2 separate regions of the Homo sapiens genome follow, and region 2 is linked to region 1. The links are contacts of gene promoters, found by promoter capture Hi-C in blood cells and fetal thymus (Javierre and others, 2016). All regions are on one chromosome and are shown on one strand. Each heading gives the region's core, a stretch centred on a gene start or on the middle of the fragment in contact. The rest is flanking DNA. Distances are from core to core; before and after follow the strand shown. Region 1 holds the start of EID3 (EP300 interacting inhibitor of differentiation 3). Region 2 holds the start of NOPCHAP1 (NOP protein chaperone 1).

The links. The method cuts DNA at HindIII sites, captures the fragments that hold promoters and counts their contacts. A CHiCAGO score of 5 or more calls a contact.
Region 2: a contact is called between a fragment that was not itself captured here and the fragment with the promoter of EID3 in region 1, in 8 of 17 cell types (non-activated CD4 T cells, naive CD4 T cells, naive CD8 T cells and 5 more). The highest score is 7.5, in non-activated CD4 T cells.

Annotation. Positions count from the first base shown.
Region 1 is chr12:104,301,367-104,308,019 of GRCh38, reverse strand. EID3 (EP300 interacting inhibitor of differentiation 3) reads right to left here and starts at 4,281. Exons shown (of 1, transcript NM_001008394.3): 1 at 2,815-4,281. The coding sequence starts at 4,085. The coding sequence ends at 3,084. The region is part of intron 4 of TXNRD1 (thioredoxin reductase 1); the gene reads right to left. RefSeq lists enhancers at 3,844-3,903, 3,934-4,173, 3,481-4,353, 6,145-6,314 and a silencer at 4,214-4,443. The HindIII fragment of the contact is 794 bases long and covers 4,186-4,979 here.
Region 2 is chr12:104,984,855-104,991,006 of GRCh38, reverse strand. NOPCHAP1 (NOP protein chaperone 1) reads right to left here and starts at 4,691. Exons shown (of 4, transcript NM_152318.3): 1 at 4,540-4,691; 2 at 2,754-2,840. The coding sequence starts at 4,654. It overlaps LOC105369952 (a long non-coding RNA gene), which reads left to right and starts at 4,637. Exons shown (of 2, transcript XR_007063436.1): 1 at 4,637-4,704. RefSeq lists a silencer at 4,212-4,461 and enhancers at 4,014-4,524, 4,525-5,037. The HindIII fragment of the contact is 4,021 bases long and covers 1-3,785 here.

The DNA of each region.
Region 1 (6,653 bases), core at 3,032-5,531:
CATCTCAAAAAAAAAAAAAAGAAAGAAAAGGGCAAACAGCATCTTACTATTATGAAAATAATTCTGACCTTAAAGTATGCCAAAAGGGCCTCATACACTTTGAGAACCAATGCTATAGAATATGAGATGACCTGCAGGCAACTGTCACTTGTTGGCAAGGCTTACACATTAGATAGCCTTCCTTTTCATCCACCTGCCTGTCATAGTAATCCCTTTCCCCAGACCCACTCCTAGTAAAACACTGCTCCAGGCTCCCCCAAAAAGGGCACAAAACAGAAAGCAATTCAACTGTGGCAGTCTTTTAAAATTGGAATAAGCAATCCTGACTTTTCCCCTAAACATAGTTTCTATCCTTTGCCAGATTTGTACTTTTATTTCCCCTACCATTATAGATGGCTCTGATGCAGAAATAACCTGCGTTAAAATACTTGCTCTACCACTCACAAGGCCAGGTGACTTCGACCAATCACCTAATCCTTAACGAAGCTAACAGGTTCCTGACCTCATCAAATGGCTGAGTTTAAGAAAGATAATGCATGTTAGCATAGTGGCTGGTAGGAATTAATCCCTTTAAGTTACTAATTCTCCATCTCCTGAAGAAGGGAAATTGCCTGGAACTAAGTCAAGAAGTGCTGGAATGTATTTACACTGGTGTCCTCCGCTGAGCTTCCCTGCGTCAATCTCCACTATTTTGAAATGCCCTCTTCCTAACAAATCTTGATCCAGTATATAGACAGACTAGCATAATGTTATTTCTATTCAGTATACAAACGTATTAGCAAGAAACAAGCAGATTTGCAGTTTGATTCTTAACCTCTATAAATTTTTAATCTCCTTTTTTCTTCAAGGTAAGCAGTCAGTTTAATTTCAAAATTTCAAAAATGATGAGGCAATCCATCATCCTCATCATTTTACTGGTTGGTGTCATGCCAACCAGTAAAAATAGAAACAGAAGTGGTCAACTTTATATTTTAACAGCTATTAACTTTAGAGAAGACCAAAAAAATTACCTCTCCTAAGCCTCCAGATTCTCTATTAATGCTTTTAAATCATCACTGTCAAATACTCCTAGTAAAGACATGAGACATTCAACAGAGCAACTGAATGTCAGTAAAGTACTGGGGCGGGATCTTTTTGCTGTCATTAAGAGTACTTTTTCTTCCAACAGCAGATCTCTGCAAAACCCAAGGAACTTGGTTGGTAGAGACATGCTGGAAATGAGGATGAGTGAGATCAAATGGTGCTTCCATGACTGCTACTATAAATCAAAGGATACTAGACACTAGCAAGGGTCAGCGCTCTTTCATATGTGAAAGGAGTAACTAATTTAGAAAATAATTTGCCAAGTTTCATGAGAAAGTTCTATTTTTGCTAAAACCTCTACTCTATTATTGGTGAAGAACCTCATCTCCATACATGAAAAATCCTTCCTCTCAGTCTTGGTGTCATTTGTTGAGTCTTTGGATTTCCCTTTCCTGTACCACTAGACTTACTAGGAAAGTTTGCCACTGCTATGCATAACAGATACCTAAACATTTGCCAAAGTATTGTTTAATGGCAAAATTCCACGACTACCAAAAATTAAGCTCCTATAGGGATCAAGGGGAAGAAAGCTTATGGGTATGCTTACTGCACCTTCTCAAGTTACTTTCTTAATGACCCAAACTTTTGGCAATAATCTCCAAATAAGGTTGTAATTTATGCAACGGAAAGAAAAAAGCCTTTATGGCTTTACACTAAGTGAAGAACATCCAGATAAACTAACATGTTTTAGTTTCAGCAAGGTCAGTTTCCTGGCATTTAAAGCCCTATTAAGAAATGCAAAATTTGGCTCACACTTGTAATCCCAGCATTTCCGGAGGCCGAGGCGGGTGGATCACTTGGGGCCAGGTGTTCGAGACCAGCCTGGCTACCATGGCGAAACTCTGTTCCTACTAAAAATACAAGTATTTGCTGGGTGTGATGGCACACACCTGTAATCCCGGCTACTTGGGAGGCTGAGGCACAAGAATCGCCTGAACCCCGCAGGCAGAGGTTGCAGTGGGCCGAGATTGCACCACTGCACCCCAGCCTGGGCAAGAGTGATACTCTGTCTCGAGGGGGAAAAAAAAAGATAGAAATGCAAAATTAAAGTGGGACAAATATTCAAAGTTGTTACATGATGAAAAAGCGTAGATTGTGAAGGACATTCTATGTACTAGCAAAGACCACAAAGGGACACTAGGGGCCAGAGAAGAAATTCAGTAGATAAAAACTACAACTGGATAGCAAGATCTTGTGTTCAATGTATAATAGTTTGACAAAAACATCTTCTCAGGATATTAATAGATGAAGTTATTCAATTGTTGCCCAGCTTATCAAATATAATAGTTTTTCCATAAATCTAATGGTCCTCTCGTGCCTAACTTCTAACAATTCCATGCATTTGACCTTGCTATTCTCTTGCCTAGAATGCCTTTTCCTTCTTCGTGTTTCTACTCACCTTTCACCCTTAGCTGATACCTCAACTACTACAGCAGAGACACTACTTTTGCTGAGTACAATAACAGAAATTGTTTAGAATATGGATACTCACTCATAAATCCTAAGTCTTCCTTGCAATGACTTTTTTAGTCTTAATGTTGCATATTCACTGCCTTACAGACAGGTTTTTTTTTTTAACTTTTGTTTTTTACCCACTCTTTGCCCAACCTGGTTAGGAACCCTTTCTGGGATTCTCTTGGTTCCCTATGACAGAGAAAGCAACGCATCACAGAGCATCATCACTGATTTTCGTAAATTATTATGTTTTGCAAATTATCAAATATCCCTTAATTTGGTATCCAAAACTTGTTTTTATTAATAGTCTTAAAGGGCATTCAATAAAACGTTCCCATAAATATGCCAGTGAATTTGTTTTAATAACAGAAGATCATGACCTTATAAATTACTAAGAAAAATATGCTGCACAGTAAAACAATGTCTGATGTTCTTGAAAATACTTTTTCACTTTACAAGAGATACAATATGTGCTTCAGTTTACATTTTACTCTCCATCTAACTTCAGAAAAAAAACACAAAAAGGATGCTATACTAAGAAATCTTTAGTATGAGGAGTATGTAATCATAGCCTCAGAAATTTCAAAAGCTGCCACAATGTTTTTCCACTCCTGTAAAGTCAAAGATATAACTCCCTGTTTCCTGCCATGGCAACTGGAATCATTTCCCTCACCCATTTGGTTAACATTCATCGGCTCTAATATTGGCAGCCTGTCTTCATCAAGCCTTATTCTTGCAAAACCATCTCTTACAATAAAAGAAACATAAAATATATTCTCCACAGTACGAGAAAAAGAGTTTGGATCAATCACAAACTCAAAATAGGACACAGGAGTATCAGGATACTTTCGAAAGTAGGTTTGCAACAATCCCAAAATCCTTTCTACGTTTTTTTCTGTCGCTTCTGGATAACTACTCAGGTCCAACTTCTGCAACTTTGTAGGCATGTTGCCATTTTCTTCCATCTTGCGAACTTTTTTCTGGTGTTCAAGTCGGGGCTTTGGTGCAGAACGTTCTAGCTTGAATGAACCAAAAACAAAATGGAATGTCTCAGCTTTTACCATCCAGGATGTTGCTTCCTTTTCTATTGCCTTCCAGAAGGAAAGAGCTATGCTATCATCACAATCACTCAACTTGTCAGGATCGCCTTCCATCCAATTCAGACCCACGAACAGAAACAGAAAGTCACAAAATGCTAACTGATTAAAGAAGTTCATATCTGAGTTTAACTGCTTTGCCTTTTCTTTACCCAAATCAGAAGCCATAACAAGAAACCGGGCGTCGAGGGCTGCTTCTCTGGTTCGGCTCACGCCATCAAAGAGGACGTTGGCTTCCTCCAGAGCCTCGGTTAAGGAGTTGTTCGCCGAGCTCACGATGTCCTCCCGGTTCTGCCGCACGCAGTACATGAGCTGCCGGTACTGCCTGCGGATGCTGCGGCACTTCTCCTCGTCAGCGGTGAGCTCCAGGAGCTTTGGGTCTACGTCGGCCTCCCCAGAGCTGAGGTCGTCGGAGCAGCCCGCGGCCCTCACTGACACATCCATCTTCATCAGCGCTCCCTCCGCCGCCGCCTACTTCGCCGCGTACTCGCTACCGGGGATGATCACGAGCTGCTCCTCTCCTTTCTCTTCGTCTCCCTTCCGGGAAGCTTTTTCAACCAACATGCCGGCCACGGGTATCTCTGAGGTAACGGCCCTCCCAGCGTGTGGAAAGTGGCGGCAGTTAGAGCCGAGGACGCCCGCCCATGCGCACTAGCGGCCCGGCCCGGCGCGACCCGCCCCCAGCACGCTCCGCGGGAAGACAGCCCCGCCCCGGCCCGGCCCAGCCACAAGCCGAGGCGCTCGCTCATAGACCAGCGCGGCGCTCCCAACACGCGCAATGATGGGCCCTGACCTCACACGCGACTAATGCCCGCTCAGGGGACAGCTATTCTTTTTCAAAGCGTTTACCGACTGGATCACCTCACTTTAAAAAAAAACACTTTTGGACAACTTTACACAAAACTATTGAGGAGACTAAAGGTCCTGCGCTTTAAAACGCTCGCTGCCATCATATACTGCAGTGAGGTCGACCTGGTTTTGGTTTTTTGTGAACTAAATCTGGCTGGACTGTAAACCGTCGGTAAGGCCAAGGACCGTGAAAAGCAGAAACTCCATTAAGCAGGCTAAACTCTCAGTTCTTTTGCAAGGTGGTGTTTGGACTCATTATACAAATGTAAATCGGGTTAATTACTTTCACATGTCCTCTTAAAAACCAAGCCCCCTCCAATACCCATCCTGAGTATCTGTGGGATCGGGGGAGCCTCCAATATCCGTGCTAACCCCTGCAGGAAACTGGGTGCTGGGCACGGGCATTACTCAGGTGAACTTTGGTTCTCCACTACCCAGGAGTGGAAGAATAGAATGGGTAGAGATCTCTGCAAAAGAGCTATTTACTTGGAAGCTTGCCAACAGCTAAAGGCCACCGACACTGAATGGGTAGTAACTCTGAACCCTAAAAGGTGGGCAAAGCTATGAAAATTTCAGATACAGTCTAAGGATATGAAAGCTTAATCTGTAAACTGGGTGAGTAATCTGCGTGGGAAAATTTACCCATTGGATTTAATGGGGTCACTGGAAACTCAAGTGCAGTTAAAGACGTGACTCCTTATCTGTCTCACCAGCAGCAAATAGCAAAGTATACATAACAATGGGAATGGCCGGGCGCGGTGGCTCACGCCTGCAATCCCAGCACTTTGGGAGGCCGAGGCGGGCGGATCACGAGGTCAGGAGATCGAGACCATCTTGGCTAACCCGGTGAAACCCCGTCTCTACTAAAACTACAAAAAATTAGCCGGGCGCGGTGGCAGGCGCCTATAGTCCCAGCTACTCGGTAGGCTGAGGCAGAAGAATGGCGTGAACCCAGGAGGCGGAGTTTGCAGTGAGCCGAGATCGGGCCACTGCACTCCAGCCTGGGCTATAGAGCGAGACTCCGTCTCAAAAAAAAAAAAAAAAAAAAAGGGAATGAATACATCTGGTTTTTAAAGAGAACATGCACACAAACAACCCATGAGCATCAACAGCTTTTCAAACCTGCAACAGGTACACCTTAAAAAAAAAAAGACACCCACAATTGCACCTGTCCAATTGCCAGTTTCATAGCACCAGGAAGTAAATTAGCCCTACCTTCCTTTATGCATATAGACTTGTTCTATTTCTTTAGCATTAGCAGAAAGTTTTTTGTAAATGTATAAACAGCAAAATCTAGTAGTATTAAGTTACTCCAAAATCCTTATATTACCATTTGCTCCCAATTATTTTATTAACTAGGGGTAATTCAGGGAGATACGTGCATTTTTCAAAACACCATGCATTACGGTTAGTTGTACATATATATGATCCTACCCTATTAGATTGTTGGCTTCTCAAAAACAAAAGCTGCGTTTTAGATCTTCCAAACATAGCTGTTTTTACACGGAGATGCACTTATGTACTGAATGTATAACTTAAAATAGATTTAAAACTATCCCAGCATCTACTGCAAGTTATTTGGCAGCAAAGATTTAAGTTCACAGATTCGTGGAATTAATCCTACACACTGAAAGGAAAAGTTGACTGCTCTTCAGAAAAAGTTCTTATCCCTCTTCTAAAATAAAGGAAAAATGAAAGAAAGGTAAGTTGAGACCCAGGATCATTCAAGGATCGTATCTGTCCCTAGTCTGGCCAATTACAAACTAGTATTTGAACTTGTTTTAAATCTTAGGTGAAAATACAGTTAAGAATTCCAAGACCCAAATCCAAAAAAGTCTGCTTTTACAGTGAACGATATTCTTAGGAGCTTCTCACATCCACTTTAAATTCAACAAAAGCAGCCGGGCACGGTGGCTCACGCCTGTAATCCCAGCACTTTGGGAGGCTGAGGCGGGCGGATCACGAGGTCAGGAGATCAAGACCGTCCTGGCTAACACGGTGAAACCCCGTCTCTACTAAAAATACAAAAAATTAGCCGGGCGTGGTTGCAGGCGCCTGTAGTCCCAGCTACTCTGGAGGCTGAGGCAGGAGACTAGCCTGAACCCAGGAGACGGAGCTTGCAGTGAGCCAAGATCGCGCCACTGCACTCCAGCCTGGGCGACAGAGCGA
Region 2 (6,152 bases), core at 526-3,025, 690 kb before region 1:
TGGGGGAAGAGTACGCTCTAGATTAGGCCAATACCCAGGAAAGCAGAACTAAGAGACAGAGTGGCTGACCTCTGAGGACACTGAGCACCTGGATCCAGATGCACCTGAAATCTACTGTGCCTGGAGTATTTTTCCCCCAATAAAAAGAGCCAACATAATTTCTTTTTTTGCTTAAGGCAATCTGAGCTGGATTTTAGTCATTTGCAACCAAGAATCCTAATTAATACATTTAATTCTACCTCTTGAAACCTCAGCGTACTAATCCATAAAAGAGGAGTGATAACTGTCAGTCACTGTGCCAAATACAGAGCAGTCAACAAACAAGGATATTTATTTTCTCTCTCAAAAGAGGCCCAGCACATAACCACGCATATAACAGACTCTCAAAACTTATGTAACTGCTATGGCTACATAACAGATGACTAAAATGTCCAGCGTATGGAAGAAGAAAAGAAAATAGTGGCCAAGGTCAAGTAGACGACCTCTATTTGTAAAATAAGGTGCTGGAAGGACTCCCTAAGAGCATGCACACAAATAAAGCCCGACGTAATAGTGAATGTTAGCTCTCATTCCCCTTCAGATTACAGAAAGAGAAATTACTAATACAAATAAAGGTATTTCTCTGTCCTCAGATTTAAATATATTGCTACAGATAGAAAATCTGGTACTGCTTTTGTTTCCAACTAATGAATCAAGTAGAGCAAAACAAGTACCAAAATGTGCGGCCTGAACTGTGATCCTCAGAAGCCAAATAATTCCGTGGTACTCTAGGAGAGTATATGCTGAACCCTGAGGCTAGTCCAGTCGTGGTTCTTCTAAATTAAATAATACTCAACACACAACACCATAATATTCAAAATGTCCAACATCTAATAAAAAATTAGCAAACATGCAAATAAACAGGAAAACATAATCCATAAAGAGTAGGGAAAAAAGATTCAGAAATGATGCAGACGACAGAATCAGCAATAAGAATGTTAAAACAGCTCTTAGAAATATACTTTGTATGTTCAAGGAAGAAAAGAAAAGCACAAACACAAGGAAAGAAAAAAAGATGTAAACAGTCTCAAACTTCTAGAGATGGAAACTGTATCTACCTTGAAAAAATACATTTGATAGAATTAACAGATTAGACAATATAGAAGAATAGTGAACTCAACGAAATCAGCGATAGAAGCTATCCAAATTGAAACACACAAAACATAAGACCCAAACAAACAATCAATGAGCTGTGAGACAACCTCAACTGGCAAAATTAGGTGTCATTGGAGTCCCTTCAGGAGAGGCGAGACAGGAGCAAGCAACAACAACATCCCTAAAAATTTCCCAAATTTGATAAAAATTATAAACCCATAGATCCAGTAAGTTCAACAAACCCAAGCTCAAGACTCACAAAGAAAACTACAAAGGGCACATCACCATAAAATCGGTAAAAACCAGTAATGAAGGGAATCTTAAAGGCAGCCAGAGAAGAAAAGAAACACCATATTCATGACACAAAATGACAGTAGACACTGGCGTCAGAAACAATGCCACTGAAAAGAAAGTGTAGTGATGTCTTTAAAGTACTGGAGAAAACAGAAAAAGCAAAAAACCACACTGTCAACCTAGAATTCTAAATCCATTAAAGCATCTTCCAAAAACTGAAAGCAAAATACTTTCTCAGACACACAAAGGCTGGTAAGTCTATCTCCAGCAGAGCTGCACTATCAAGAATGATGTTTACAATAAGAAACCTGATTTTTTAAATGTGTTTAAGATTTGAATAGGCACTTCACCAAAGACATACAAATAGTGACACATGAAAAGATGCTCAACATTATTAGCCATTAGAAACAAATTAAGATCACAACGCGATACCACTATATCCACACTAGAACAGCTAAAATTAAAAAGGCCATACCACATTTTGGTTAGGATGTGCAGCAACTAAACTCTCATACCTTGCTGGTGGAAATGCAAAATAGCAATTTCTTCTTCGTAAAAAAAAAAAAAAAATTACACCTTCTATATACCCGCAATTCCACTCCTAGGTATGTAATCCCTCAAAACAAAAACCTATATCCACAAAAACTGGTTTTTGGATGGGCAGCCACCATATGGTCATTTCAGCTATTGTAGATTTAGTGCTACAGTAATGATGCTACAGTTAAATTCTCCTTTCAGAGTACTCATGATTTCTTAGTTTATTGATGTGATACCTTCATTACCTTCATGCTTATTTACATTGTTTTTATTGAATTTTTGCCTTTTTTTAATATTAAGAGTGAATTACATAGAGGGCATTCGTGTAATAAAGTCTGAGTGTGGGACATACTTATGAATGTGCAGTACAGCAATACTACAGAATAATAAAGAGAACTGGCCATTATGCTGTATTCTAAGTAATATTTATCATTTAAATAATTGTGTCCAATTCAATGGGATGTGGTTGTGGTTTTCCATCCATATATATTAAGTTTGAGGCTCAGTAACCTCTAAATAAATTTGCCATGGAGATTAACAATTGTTTTTGACTTCCCAAAATTCAACCCACAAGCAATTTTTCACGAAAAAGTTACCCTCTTAAAGTAGAGAAATAATGTAAGAAGTTCCATTCTGTGTACTGACTTTATCATGTAAATCCCAAGTAGGACTTGTTCCACTGGACTATCTGTGGTTTGATACCTGACAATGAAGGCAGAGACCGTCCCACAGCTTAATCAGACAAAACTCAGCATTAGAGAGGGTGAGAGAGGGGAAGAGGTACTTACAGGGACTCCTCTCTATCCGAACTGTTTGAAGAGTGGAGGTCTTTCTGGACTTAGGTTGGGAGTTGATGAGCAACCTGTCCCATATACCTGAAAATACAGACACACAAACACCCTTAATTTACTACAGCATAAAAAAACAAAGGCCCATCAGTAAGCCTCTCACATGACCAGTCTTAAGACTTGACTGTCCACACTCCCCCAAAATTTTTTTTTTAAAGGAGAACTCCAAGCTCCATTACAACATTTTAATTCTTTATGTACAGCCAGCCACCTCTCCTTTCTTACATCTGTCTCATTCACCTCTATCACCAATGGCAGGTAATAAATGCACACCAATCTGCACTTTTCTGGATCAGAAATTCATTAGCAGACAAACGTGGGTCTGCAATGACAGAACGGAGGAAACAGTACAGAGCATAACAATGGTTAAGTGAAGCCAGAAATGGTTACTAGTTGTGTAACACTGGGCAACTTACCTGATCTTCAAGCATTTGTTTCTTCATTAGTAAAACATGCTTGCCTGGTATTTCCCCTTCCCTGAAGACGTTCAACCCAAGGAAAGCAGCCTTTTGGGGATTTTGTCACCCACTCTACCTTTCCAGCCTCATTTCTCACTACTCAAATCATCCCAACTCTCTATCCCATCAGAGTTCCAAGAGGGGAACGTACAAAACTCAAGGCTTTGCACACCCTATTTCTAATACCCGGAAAATCCCTTAACTCTCTGGTTAAAAAACAAATCCTGTTCACCTGCAAAGCAGAGCCGCAACAAACATCCATTGAATGCCTACTACTTAAGGCCTACTGGATTCGTGATCAGAGCACAGAGTCTGGAGCCAGACTACTTGAATTCAAGTCCCAGTTTTGCTACTTTCTAGCCACATGATCTCCAGAAGGTAAATTACCTGTATGATAAATCATGTCTCAGGTTCCTCAACTATAAAACAGAGATAACAGATTTTCTGCAAAGGGTTGTTGTGAGGATTAGATGAGTTAGTTTCTGGGGCATACATAGTAAGGACTACATAAGCTTTGGTTATCATTATTATACTTCCTTCGGAATCTCTGGGTTCTCACAAAACCTTTTCTTCAAGCTAGTATTTACTGACAACATGCCCAAGCCTTTTTAGGCATTCTCCTCCTCACAAAAATTCTACAGGCATTACTACTATCACCATTTTCCAAATGCAAAAACTGAGGCTTAGGGAATGAAAATAACTCTAAGTCCCACCAGTTAATTACTAGTGGAGCTGGGATTCGAACTCGTGCTTTTAAATTCTACCTATAGTGTCTGAAATGCTGTGTGGATTTCCTGGATGCATGTCTCCCTCTACAAGACAGCAGCACTAAGGGGTGGTCTGTGTGGGTGTGAAAGAGGTAGGGACTGTTAGCATAATATTACTCCGCTTCCCCCTATCAGCCAACTGCTCCGACCCAGGCAGCCAAACCAAAAGCCCTCCCTTCCCCAAAAGAACTCGAGAGCTTCCCAGCTTCCAGGGCAGGGCAGATGCCTGGCAGCGGCGCCTGGCAGGGTGGGCGCTCACTACCTTGCAGAATATAAGAACCACTAGCTGGGGAAACCATTCCGGGCCCGCAGCCGGGTGCCCGCCCCAAAGCCCCCACCCCTGCCGCGGGCAGGGCACGCCGGAGCCCCGCAGCAGTCCCCGGGGCTCCCCTCGAGGGTACGGAGCCCGGGCAGGGAGCCACCGGCCGGCTCCCAAACTGCACCGGCCGCGCCTCCTCTGCCGCACGTGTGCGGCCCATGCCGCCGTCACCCGTCCGTCACCTCCGCGGCCGTCGCTTCCCGCCGTCAGCAGCTCCTTGGACACTGGGACTCCTGAGGAATCCCGGGTGGGCGACGAACAACTCGGGCTAGCCTTGGGCTTGCCATGGACCTCCATGCTTCCCTCAAGCCTGCACTCTCAGGCCCGGATGCAGGAAAAAGGCTCGGGTAAGGGGGCGGGGAGAGGGCCGCGATTGGAGGAAACTGCGGTGGGCGGAGTAAGGAGCGGAGAGAGAGGCGGGGCGAGCGTGGTGCAGCCTGGAGGCTGCGCGGGAGCAGGGGCCATTCCTACTCCTGGGAAAAAGAAAGGTTCAGACACTGTCATAGGAAAAAACAGCGGGCAAGGCTCGATTTCGCCAAATTCGGGCATAAAGAGCATAACATTAGGCTTCCCTCCTCTTTATCCTTTTTTATTAAATTTTTTTTTAATTGGTGAAAAAACACGTAACAAAATCTACCATCTTAACCATTTTTAGTTGTACAATTCAGTGGTGGCAGACCTCTAGATCATTTTCATCTTGCAAAACTGAAACCTTATACCCATTTACCCCTACTCCAGTCCCTTGGTAACCACCATTCTACTTTCTTCTTTGTTTCTTTCTTTTTGAAACAGCCTTGCTCTGTCGCCCAGGCTGGTGCCTCAGCCTCCCAAGTAGCTAAGATTACAGGTGCACACTACCACGCCCGGCTAATTTTTGTATTTTTGTATAGAGACGGGTTTTCACCATGTTGGCCGGGCTGATCTTGATTTCCTGACCTCGGGAGATCCACCCACCTTGGCCTCCCAAAGTGCTGGGATTACAGGCGTGAGCCATCATGCCCAGCTACCATCGTTCTACTTTCTGTTACTATGAGCTTGACTACTTCAGATACATTATGTAGGTGGAATCATACAGTACTTGCCTTTTTGTTACTAATTTCACTTAAAATAATACCCTCAAGGTTTAGACATGTTGTAGCACATAACAGGATTCTCTTCTTTTTTAAGCCTGAATAATATGCCATTGTATGTATATACCACATTTTCTTACCATTGATCTCTCAACAGGCGTGCTGGTTGCTTCCACCTCGTGGTCATTGTGAACGCTGCTGCAATGAACATGGTGGTACAAATATCTCTTAGAGACCCTGCTTTTCAATGCTTTGGGATACATACCCAGACATGGGATTACTGGATAATAGGGTAATTCTACTTTTTAGGTTTTTGTGAAGCCTCCGTATAGTTTTTCATAGTGGCTGCACCATTTTACATTCCCACAGTGCACAAGAGTTCCAATTTCTCCACATCCTTGTCAATATTTCCTTTTTCTGTTTGGTTGCTTCTTTCTTTTTGACAGTGAGCATCCCAGTGAGTGTGAAGTGATATCTTGAAGTTTTGGTTTGCATTTCTCTAATGATTTAGTGATGCTGAACACCTTTTCATGGGCTTGTTGGCCATTTATATATCTTCTTTGGAGAAATGACTATTCAACTCCTTTACCCATTTTTTAATCTGGTTATTTGTGTTTTTGTTGTTGAGTTGTAGGAGTTATTTATATATTCTGGATATTAACCCTTTATCGGATATATGATTTACAAATATTTTCTCCCATTCTGTAGGTTGCCTTTTCACTCTA